Linked DNA regions of Homo sapiens: regions 2 and 3 are each linked to region 1. Evidence: promoter capture Hi-C in human tissues and cell types (Jung and others, 2019). All regions are on one chromosome and are shown on one strand. The core of a region is centred on a gene start or on the middle of the fragment in contact, and the rest is flanking DNA. Distances in the headings are between cores, read along the strand shown. Region 1 holds the start of TTC7B (tetratricopeptide repeat domain 7B). Region 2 overlaps RPS6KA5 (ribosomal protein S6 kinase A5). Region 3 overlaps TTC7B (tetratricopeptide repeat domain 7B).

Region 1 (3,624 bases), core at 601-3,100:
ACCACAGCTATTTCCCTGGCAGTATTCTCAACACTGCAGTCACAGTGATAGTCCAAAGTGTAGGTCTGATCATGCCACTCTTCCGTGAAAAGCCCTGCAGGGCTGCTCCATGTCACCAGAGTAAAAGTCAAAGTTTTTTTTTTTTTTTTTGAGACGGAGTCTCTCTCTGTTGCCCAGGCTGGAGTGCAGTGCTGCCATCTCAGCTCACTGCAAACTCCGCCTCCCGGGTTCACACCATTCTCCTGCCTCAGCCTCCCCAGCAGCTGGGACTACAGGCGCCTGCCACCACGCCCGGCTAATTTTTAAAAATATTTTTAGTAGAGACGGGTTTCACCATGTTAGCTAGGACGGTCTCGATCTTCTGACCTCGTGATCCGCCCACCTCGGCCTCCCAAAGTGCTGGGATTACAGGCGTGAGCCACCGTGCCCAGCCAAAAGCCAAGGTCTTATAATGGCCCACCAGGCACTACACAGAACTCCCCCCAACCTCTCAGAGTTCATCTCCTGCCTCGGCCCCTCTCCTTCGCTCCACCCAGCCCCTCTGGCCTCTGCCATTTCTCCATCCCACCCAGTGTGCTCTAACCCCAGAGCCTTCGCACTTGTGGTGTTCTCTGCCTGGGATACTCCTCCCCCAGAGATATCCTCATGGCTCCCCCTTAGTTTCTTCAAGTCTAATGCCACCTCCGTGAGGCCATCCCTGACTGCTCCATTTTAAATGGCAACACTTGCTCAGGCTGAAGTGCGTTCACTGCTCACTGCAGCCTCCACCTTCTGGGCTCAAGCAATCATCCTGCCTCAGCCTCCTGAGTAGCTGGGATTACAGGCATGAGCCACCCGCCTGTCCCAACTCTTTATGTTCCTCACTGAACCCTTCCCTGTTTCTTCAAATAGCCATTTTTACAGTCTAGTTTACTATTTTATTTTGCTTATTTTTCCCCCAAACTGGAATGTAAGCTCTCTCAAGCCAGGAATTTTGTTTTTTTAGCTCACAATTCTATCTCTGGCACCTAAAGCAGCGCCCAGCACATAGTAGGTGATCACTAGACAGTTGATTCACTGAGAGAACACAGAGGGACACCTCCCTAGGTCTCAGTCTAGGTGGCCAAGACAGGAGGCCCCACCAGTGACTGTGCCTTCCCCTCAGGGGGTCCGAGAGCTGGCGTGTGAGAGTGGCAGCCCCTGCCTGGCTCCGCTCAGCCATCTAGGGCACCCCTGGCAGGTGCTGTGCCTTGCCTGGGATGGAGGAGTCTCCGTCCACCTCTGGCTGGGTAGGGGCTAAGGCTGCGGGGCAGAGGGGCATCTGCTAAGGGGCACAGGCCAACCGGGCCCCAGGGAACCGCTGGCCACCTGAGATGGCAGGACAAACTCGGGCAGGCCTCCCCCCACCCCTCACACCTGGCTCACTGGTCCCACCGGGCGGTGACCTTCCCCAGGGTCACTGCCCTTTCTTGGCCCTACTCCTGGGGATCCAACCCGCTCCCAGGCTGTCGCTAGCTCCCTCCCGATCCTCTCCCTCCCCTTCATCCTGCCCAGACCCCTACCCCACCAGACCCCTCACCCGCCCTTGGTCAGATCTCTCTCCTACCCCGCTCCCCCACCCCCATCCCCACTTCCCCTCGGTCTTCACCCCGCCCCAGACACCCCCAGTCCCTCTCCCTGTCCTCCATGCCCACCCCGCCTTTCCTCCCTCGGGCCCCTGTCTCCCGCCCTAGCCCCCGCCCCTGCCCCAGCCCTGGCTCCGGCCCCGGTCAGTGCTGCGGCTCCGGCCCTGGCCGGCAGGGGCCGCTCCTCGCGGCGCCCGGGGCCCCGCCGCGCCCGCCGCCGCCGCCCGCCTCCCCGCCCCTTCCCCAGCCGGCGCTCCCGTTACGCCGCGGAGCCGGGAGCCGGAGCCCGAGCCCGCGGCGGCGGCGGGAGGCGGCGAGGGGGCGCCGCGGCGGCGGCGGTGGGGCCTGCGGGGCGGGCGGCCGGGCCCGGCCAGGCCGCGATGGCGACCAAGAAGGCAGGCTCGCGGCTGGAGACGGAGATCGAGCGCTGCCGCTCCGAGTGCCAGTGGGAGCGGATCCCTGAGCTCGTCAAGCAGCTGTCGGCCAAGCTCATCGCCAACGGTACGCTCCGGGCGCGCCGGCCTGGGCTGCGGGGGGCGCCGCGGCCTCCGCGGGAACGGGCCCCCGAGGCGCGGCCGGGCGCGGGGCGCGGGCAGGGGCGCGGCCGGGCCGCGAGGGAGCTGCGGCCCAGGGGATGTGCGCGGGACCGGGGCCTGGGGGAGCCCGGGTGCCCCGGAGTCACGCGGTGTGGGGGCCCGGGGGGGCGCCAGGGGCTGTCCCGGCGCCTGGGGTTCAAGCGTGCAGGGCGGGCTTCTGCGGAGTCTGGGGTGTCCGGGGGTCTCAGCGAGTCCGCTGCTCCACTGGGACCACAGGAGGTCAGGGGCCGGCCTGGGGCTTCCAAGAAGTTGGAGGTGATGGGGTGAGGGGGTCCCTCAGGACATGGGTGAAGTCCACAGTGTGTGTATGGTGTGCTCAGGGAATCAGGATGTGTTTATGGGGTCTTGAGAATGGGGTGTTGTACATAGACCCCTGGGGAATCTGGTTTGTAAACATATGGTGTTTAAGGGGTTCTGGGTGGAAGCGCAGACTCGAGGTGTGTGGGGTGGTGGTAGAAAGCAGGCTGGGATGTGCGTCCTGGCGTTCGGAGAAGTAGCATCAAGGCTGCCGACCTAGAGAGGTCAGGGTTGGGAATAGAGGAGAAATAGAGTCAGGGGGACCTGGAGGGAGAATATTGTGGAGCGAGATGGGAATGTGGTTGAAGAATGTCGGGAGATGGAGTTGGGTGGGTGAGGGGTTGGTGCCTGGGCCAGAAGGGGGTCTGAGGCAGCCTCTGAGTAGGAGCCTGGTGCCTGGAGTTGGTTCATGACCCCTTTAACTGGATTGGTTCTTGTACCCAATCAAATAAAATTGCATCCAGAATCCCATTCCAGTGCACAGCTCCACGTGGCCTTATTTGTTTTGGAAGCGAGTATCTTTAATATTTGCTTGTCTTTTAGTACCCGCCTAAAGCGCAGGCACCAGCACACCGTGGCCAGAGGGCAGAGGGTTTGTCTCATTTCATCCTGGGCTTCCCCAGGCCCAGTGAGCACATGTTGGCTGAACAAATGAATGAAAGAGTGAATGAATGGATGGCGGGGCTGCTCTAAGAAAGGACATCTGCACTATTTTCAACCTTCTCACTTCAGACTACCCAGAAAGGAGAGGGATGTCAGGTGTCCTCCTGGAGGGTGGTTTATGTTTGTGTCCTATGGTATTAGTGCCTGGAAATTAGAACTTGGTTTTGCGCACTCTCAATGATGGATGCATGCTGTGGGCAGGTACCTTCTGGGTGAACGCAGGTGCCATGGTGTGTCAGGGGCATGGAGATAGCACCGACCCTACACGGGCTCCACTTGGTGGAAAATGTGGACCCTTCTCAGTTATGTCAGCCTTTGAGGAGATGGTGTTCAGTGCCCTGGGCCCCAGAGGCAGCTTGCCTTTGCCCTCCGTGTCGGGCTCACCTGCTTCTCCGCTTACCTGCAGCATTTTCTCTTTTCCTCTCGGAGTTGCACAGTCCTGGGTCTACTTTGTGGCTTCCCAG
Region 2 (3,624 bases), core at 362-2,861, 230 kb before region 1:
CTGGCTTGAGTGTGACATTCAAGCAGGAGAGTCACAGGAAATGGGGCTGAGAAGGGAGCCAGGGCCATTTCATGCAGGGGTTTCTAGAGTTTAGACATTGAGTGTCATGTGAAGCCATTGAAAGATTTCCAGTTGAAGAATGATGAGATTAGTTTTGCTTTGTAACAAGATGACTCCTATTTCTGTGAGGAGAGTGGGTATAGAGATTATATGAAGGGAAACCAGGTAGGAAACTACTGTGGAAATTCAAATGGAATATAAAGGTTTAGAATAGGTAACAATTGAGATTAACAATTGTGAATGTGTTTGAGATTCACTTAGGAAATAAGAATCAGCAAAGGCCAGGCGCGGTGGCTCATGCCTGCAATCCCAGCACTTTGGGAGGCCAAGGCAGGCAGATCACCTGAGGTCAGAGATTCGAGACCAGCCTGGCCAACACGGCGAAACCCCATCTCTACTAAAAATACAAAAATTAGCCAGGCATGATGGCAGGTGCCTGTAATCCCAGTTACTCAGGAGGCTGAGTGGGAGAATTGCTTGAACCTGGGACACAGAGGTTGCAGTGAGCCAAGATCACGCCGTTGATTGCACTCCAGCCTGGGTGACTGAGCAAGACTCCATCTCAAAAAAAAAAAAAAAAAAGAATCAGCAGAACTTGGTATTGTATTGACATGGGGTTTTGTGGCTGGAACAAATGTGTGTTTGAAGATGCTGTTTATTGAAATGATGTAATTATTTTCTATTGCTGCATAACAAATTACCACAAATGTAGTGGCTTGTAATAGCATCCATTTATTAGCTCTCAGTTTAGTAGATTATAAATCCTTATGAGACCTAAATTATTGTGTTAGCCAGACTGAGTTCTTGTCTGGAGGCTGTGGGTAAAAATCTACTTCCAAACTCATTTTTGTTGGTAGAATTCAGTTCCTGTATTTGTTCCCCAAGGTTCCAGTTTCCTTGCTGGCTGTTAGCTGGGGGTTATCTTCATTCTTCTCATTTGTCTCTTCCACCTTTTTTTTTCTTTTTTTTTTTTTTGACACGTCTCGCTCTGTTGCCCAGGCTGGAGTGCAATGGTGCGGTCTCGGCTCACTGCAACCTCTGCCTCCTGAGTTCAAGCGATTCTCCTGCCTCAGCTTCCCGAGTAGCTGGGATTACAGGTGCCTGCCACCACACCTGGCTAATTTTTATAGTTTTAGTACAGACGGGGTTTCACCATGTTGGCCAGGCTGGTTCGAACTGCTGACCTCGTGATTCACCCGCCTCGGCCTCCAAAAGTGCTGGAATTACAGGCGTGAGCCACCGCACCCAGCCTGGGTCTTCAATCTTTAATCCAGTAAAAGTGTGTCAAATCCTTTCCATACTTTAACTTTCTGACTTCTAAACCCCCTTCTGTCTGACCTCTAGGTACGGATTTAAAGGGACTCATGTAATTAGGTTAGGCCTACTTGGGTAATTTTCTTTCTTTCTTTCTTTCTTTCTTTCTTTCTTTCTTTCTTTCTTTCTTTCTTTCCTTCTTTCTTTCTTTCCTTCTTTCTTTCTCTTTCTTTCTTTCTTTCTTTCTTTGTCTATCTTTCTCTCTCTCTTTCTCTCTCTCTCTTTCTCTCTCTTTCTCTCTCTCTCTCTTTCTTTCTCTCTCTCTCCCTCTCTCTCTCCCCCTCTCTCCCCCATCTCTTTCTCTCTTTCGTTTTACTCTTGTTGCCCAGGCCAGAGTGCAATGGCGCGATCTCGACTCACTGCAGCCTCCACCTCCTGGGTTCAAGCGATTCTCCTGCCTGAGCCTCCCAAGTAGCTGGGATTACAAGTGCCCACCACCATGCCCAGCTAATTTTTGTATTTTTAGTAGAGATAGGGTTTCACCATATTGGCCAGGCTGATCTTGAACTCCTGACCTCAGGTGATCCACCCTCCTTGGCCGCCAAAAGTGCTGGTATTACAGGCGTGAGCCACTGCGTCCTGCCTACTTGGATAATTTTCTTATCGTAAGGTCAGTTGATTTAGGACCATAATTACATCTGCAAAATCCCTTTATCACAAGTGTGTGATTTCGTGATATTCACTCACTCAAGGGGAGGAGATTATACAAAGGCTAGGGTCATTGGGGTCATCTAAGAATTCCTCCTTAGAAGTCACAGAAGATAGTGAACCAGGGGAAATGCGTATCGGGGTGGGCAGAAAAGATAGGATCCAGTTTTGTACCTATCAAAGTAAGTTTGAGATGCCTTTGACATATTCTGATGGACATCTATGGTATAAGTAATCATAGATAATGTGCTAGATAGTAGGTGCTTTCATCAACTCATTTAACCTAAACAGCAACCCAGTGAAGTGAGAATTATTATTATTCTTCTTCCAATCTACGTATAGGAAAACTGAGTCTTAGTGTGCTCACCGGCTTGTTCAGGGTTACTCAAGAAGTAAGTAGAAGAATCGGTTGTGAAACTGAAGCAGTTTGGCCACAAGGCCCATCTAAAGCACTGTGCTTAGTGGGATCAGTAGGATATGGGTCAGGAGCTTGTAAAAGAGGTCTGGGTTGCAGATTAAAATCCTAGCATCATTGACCATTAGATGACATTTAAAGCCAAGGTAGTAGGTTAGATCATCTTAGGAGAGATTTTAGAGTGGAGAGGAAGAAGACTCAGAATTGAGTCCTGAAAAACTCCCAAAATTAAAGGAATCGATAGAAAAAGAGTTGCTAAGAAATGATACAGAGGAGGAACAGCCAGAAGAAAAACCAGGAGAAAACCTAGGAAAGTTGTGGTGTTTGGAAGCTAAGGAGAAAAGATGCTTTAGGGGGTGGCAGGGGATCAATTTGACTGACTACCTAATGGCCTCATCAAGAACAATTTTGGTGGAGATTTGGTGGGAGAAGCCGGATTGGAATGGATTGAGGAGTGAATGCAGGTGAAGATAACTTTTGAGAGACTTGGTTCTGGAGGATATTAAAGAGAGGGACTTAGCCAGAGAGCTATATGGGGTTCAGGAAGGGTTTATTTGTTGTGTCCTTGTTTTAAGATGAGTGATGGTAGAGCGTGCTTAAGTATTACTAGGCTGGACCTAGCCTAGTACTACAGTTTCATAGCTATTAAAACTGTACAAGATGGGATAGACGATGGTGTCATGGTCCTGAGAAGGGGGATGGGATGTTGTGCACCTGGGGGGTTAGGAGGTCCGATAAAAGACTTGCTTTTATTATTTAATGGGAAGGAAGAGGTAGAGGATACAGGTCCATTTGCAGATTTGGTGGCAGGAAGATATGGGAGTTTTGAGTTTCGAGCATGATTCTTTTTCTTCTCAAATTATGAAGAAAAGGCAATTCTTTATCCAAAAAGAGAAAAATAGCATCATTGTTTTTTAAAAATTGTGATTCTGGTCTTCAAAAAAATTCTTTTTTTTGAGATGGAGTCTCACTCTGTGCCCAGGCTGGAGTGCGGTGGTGCGATCTCAGCTCACTGCAACCTCTGCCTCCCAGGTTTAAGAAATTCTCTGCCTCAGCCTCCGGAATAGCTGGGATTACAGGCGCGTGCCACCAAGCCCAGCTAATTTTTTTTTGTATTTTTAGTAGAAAAGAGGTTTCAGCATCTGGCCAGGCTGGTCTTGAACTCCTGACCTCGTGATCCACCCACC
Region 3 (3,624 bases), core at 736-3,235, 170 kb after region 1:
CAGTTTCTCCTGCCCCACCATACTACACTGCCCTCATTTTATTCTTGTTACAGGTATAATCACAAAAATGAAATCATCTGGAAGCATAGCCCCATGATGTGAAATCCAGCATGGGTATTGATCCTGTCACTTTAAATATATCTGAGTTACACTGATTTCTTGGAACTGTATTAGAAACTTAGTTACGAATATTTCATGAGGCCTTCCCAATACCTGACAAGCTTCGTTAGACTCTTTCCTTAGAACTGGGGCTGCCTACTGATTTATCATGGTGTCCGTATGCCTTTTTTCATGAAATCATGATCAGTGGTTTCAGTGAGTCTGAAACTCTTCCGTCTCATTTCTGTTTCCTAGCAGGCTTGCCGGTAGCTACTTCAGGTTGCCAGCCCCAGTCTGGGTATTGACAAAAAGTACCAACTGACATCTGCAAACAGATCTCCTGTCTCTGTGCTAAGCTTTTGTTGATGTTCCTCAGCACGGAGTGTGGAAAGCATTTCCATTTCAAATGATTTGGAGTTTTAAATTCTCCAGTCCTAGTTTGTAAAACCCACACATGGATGCTTAAGAAAGTGGTCATTACATCTGTTTCACTTTTCTTAAATCAGCACATCTTACTGGCTCTCTAAAAACAGCCACAGTGGTGGTCTGCCTTGAGCTGCCAGTATAACTTCATGTTATATAACAGCTGCTCCATTGGCCTGAATTCTTTTTTGTTCATCTTTTGCTTAAGTTTAAATTCGAAGAGATTTTTAAAATATTAGTTCATATGGGAATAAAGAGTAATAAAATCCCGCTAACCTAACTGATGATATTGCAGAAGGCTAACCTAAATTAGAATTTGTGTGAAATATAGAATGTTTTTCATTTTATTTCAAGTACACATTAACTAGGACTATTCTAGTGAATTGCAGTCCTAACAAAAATCTTTAAGGGAAAGATTTTAAGTAAGTGAAAATGATTTGTATTACTTCTTAAATGTAAATGGATAATTTAAAACTACTTTGATGAGAAGTACTTTCTCTACTATTTGTTTTAAATATTCTCCCCACAATTCTGTTTATACTAATGTTTTGCATTTTTTGTTTAAAAAGAAAACACAATTCAGGAAGGGATGGGGTTGCAGATATAGCACAAGAAAGTTAACTCTTAATTATGACTGCCAGAATTCAGACATATTTGTTCTCTAGTGGATCCAAAGAGGTGATTTTTGAAGACATCCAGGTTGGGTGGCTGCATCTGAATGTGAGACCCTCACCTGTTCCTACACTCATAAGCTCAACCCAGGCAGCTGAACCAATTCATTTGCCCTGTACTAAAGTATAGTGAAGAAGAACATAATATTGTTTGCAAAGCTTCTGAAGATGCTGAATTGATATGACTTGCTTCTTCTGCAGGCTCTCACATCCTACTGAGAAAAGCCATCCTGAAAACAGTTGAGAGCACCTTTCATTGCATGGCCCACAGTATGCATAAAGCCTGGTGCTCCAGGAGGCAGGGGTGGCATGGTGGTGTTTGTTTATCACTCATTGTGGCACAGGGTACACGATCTTGCTTTGCTTTCCCCTTTCTGTCCTAGCTTGAGTTTAAGTGTGGTATGATGTGTGCATATAGGGTGATCAGCCATCCCAATCTCTTGAGGACTGAGCGTTTTCCCAGAACATGGGACTTGCAGTGCTAAAATCAGGAACATCCTGGACAAACCAGGACAAGTTGGTCACCCTGTGTGAGTAACTAACGAGAGATTCCTGAGCAATAGATTTAACCAGGGTTTGCACTTTTTAAAAAACTTAATGCACGAATCCCATGGCCCCTGTAATCAGGACTGAAGGGAAATTCAAGGAGAATTGGCTAAACAAGGCAGCAAGGTTCTGGCTTTCTCTCATTTGCTGGCTGTTCTTGGACAAGAAGCGTAATAGTCGATAACTTCACAAATTGTAGTTACTATTGTTACAAGATATGTGTCTTATGGACTAGGGTCAGCATTGATCAGCCTTCTCTATATTCTTGGTTCAGCTCTAGAGAATGTTGGAAATGGAATCTAAGAGAGCCCTGGGTTAGATGCCACAACATCCTTGGGTTCTAGCCAGGTGATCTGGGAAGCCCATCCGATGCTTTCCAGTAGCAGCCCAGCATGCCTATCTCTGGGCACTGCTCCCACTGCACGATGATGATGGTCATTCTGGGTCTCTCCCTCTGGGGCGGGGGTGGGAGCTCATCAAGGAAAGGCACTAGCATGATTCATCTCCATGCTCCCCAGAAGTTAGCATAGGGCCTGGCATCACATTATAGATATTGCATAATGTGGATGGGTGGATGGTGGATGGATGGGTAGGTGGATGGTTGGATGGTGGATGGATGGATAGGTGGATGGGTGGGTGGTTGGCTGGGTGGATGGGTGGGTAAGTGGATAAAAGGATGAGTGGGTTCTTCTTCATGGGAGAGAAACTGAATTAATTATGTGGAGGTGCTTTGATAAGGGAAGCATTTTGTGAGCATCCTTGTGGTGACATTTTTAGGTCTTTTAGGTATTTCTGAGCAGTCTAGCCAGGTGTTCAGTTTATGGGCACGGAGTTTATGAGGCTGCTTTAGATTCATTTACAGAGTTCAGAAGGCTTGCAATTTTTCTGATCACTAATGTCCTCTCTCTCATCTGCCTGGCCTGAGGATTTCTGTCCGGCGAGTTGCCTGTGGCATACCAAAGGGGCTTTCCCACAGGAAGCTTAGCTGCTGAAGTTGCTCCACGGGAAGCAAGTATTTTAGCATCTACTTGAGATCAACACAGGGAGCTTTTTCTTGTTTTGTTTGGCATTTGCCTTATTTCCTTCAGAGGGTGAAGTGGTCAGTTGAATTCATTAGCCAAGTTGTAGAAATAAGGTTTTTAAAATGTATATGTTTCAGTTGTGCCTCATTAGAAATTTGGCAGTTGAATATGCATCATTAGCCAAGTTGGAAATCCTTCAGATGTTGCCCTAATGCACTCCAGAAATACCAAGATTTCTAGCACTTCTGGTTTGTTCCTTTCACGGTGCTGTGGTTAACAGAGAAAAATCATTTGATGAGGCCAGCATGGGGCCTTTAGCCAGAACTATCTTTATGTACACCCTCAACTCAACAGATCATTGCCAGCTTTTCAGTTGGTTGGTATTGCATAGAGGCAACCATGACTTGATTTATTCGTGAAGAATATGAATTGAACTGAGAAAATTATAATTCTAAGAAGTTCTTTTTGAGGGTTCTGTAAATTTATTATTTGTGAAAGAAGATAAAATAAATCTAAAAATTTCTTCATAATTGTGTATTATTTTTCCTGAATAATTATGAGAGAAACCATGATTTTTCAATCTCACTTTTATAAACACCAAAGAAAAATATTCTTTGATGTACAAATTCATGGAAAGCCAATATTTGTAAAATTATAAAAGCTGCTATATACTGAGTGGACCTTAGAAATAAGCCATTTAGTAGCTGGGCGTGGTGGCTTATGCCTGTAATCCCAGGGTTTTGGGATGCCAAAGTGGGAGGATCACTTGAGCCTAGTAGTTCCAGACTAGCCTGGATAGCATGTTGAAACCCCGGGTCTACAAAAAATTCTATAAATTAGCTGGGCGTGGGGAGCACGCCTGT

Evidence for each region. The method cuts DNA at HindIII sites, captures the fragments that hold promoters and counts their contacts. A contact is called where the count stands out against the background at its distance.
Region 2: a fragment that was not itself captured here is called in contact with the fragment with the promoter of TTC7B in region 1 in 1 of the 25 tissues and cell types used here (dorsolateral prefrontal cortex).
Region 3: a contact is called between a fragment that was not itself captured here and the fragment with the promoter of TTC7B in region 1, in 2 of the 25 tissues and cell types used here (dorsolateral prefrontal cortex and mesenchymal stem cells).

Annotation. Positions count from the first base shown.
Region 1 is chr14:90,814,656-90,818,279 of GRCh38, reverse strand. It overlaps TTC7B (tetratricopeptide repeat domain 7B), which reads left to right and starts at 1,850. Exons shown (of 20, transcript NM_001010854.2): 1 at 1,850-2,105. The coding sequence starts at 1,985. RefSeq lists a silencer at 1,677-1,856. The HindIII fragment of the contact is 18,929 bases long and covers 1-3,624 here.
Region 2 is chr14:91,042,279-91,045,902 of GRCh38, reverse strand. The region is part of intron 1 of RPS6KA5 (ribosomal protein S6 kinase A5); the gene reads left to right. Among named protein-coding and RNA genes, the nearest start is that of RPS6KA5, 17 kb to the left of the region's middle. The HindIII fragment of the contact is 6,308 bases long and covers 1-3,624 here.
Region 3 is chr14:90,648,491-90,652,114 of GRCh38, reverse strand. All of the region lies in intron 13 of TTC7B (tetratricopeptide repeat domain 7B), which reads left to right. It overlaps TTC7B-AS1 (TTC7B antisense RNA 1), which reads right to left. Exons shown (of 5, transcript NR_110134.1): 5 at 3,224-3,624. Among named protein-coding and RNA genes, the nearest start is that of TTC7B-AS1, 7.7 kb to the right of the region's middle. The HindIII fragment of the contact is 3,294 bases long and covers 339-3,624 here.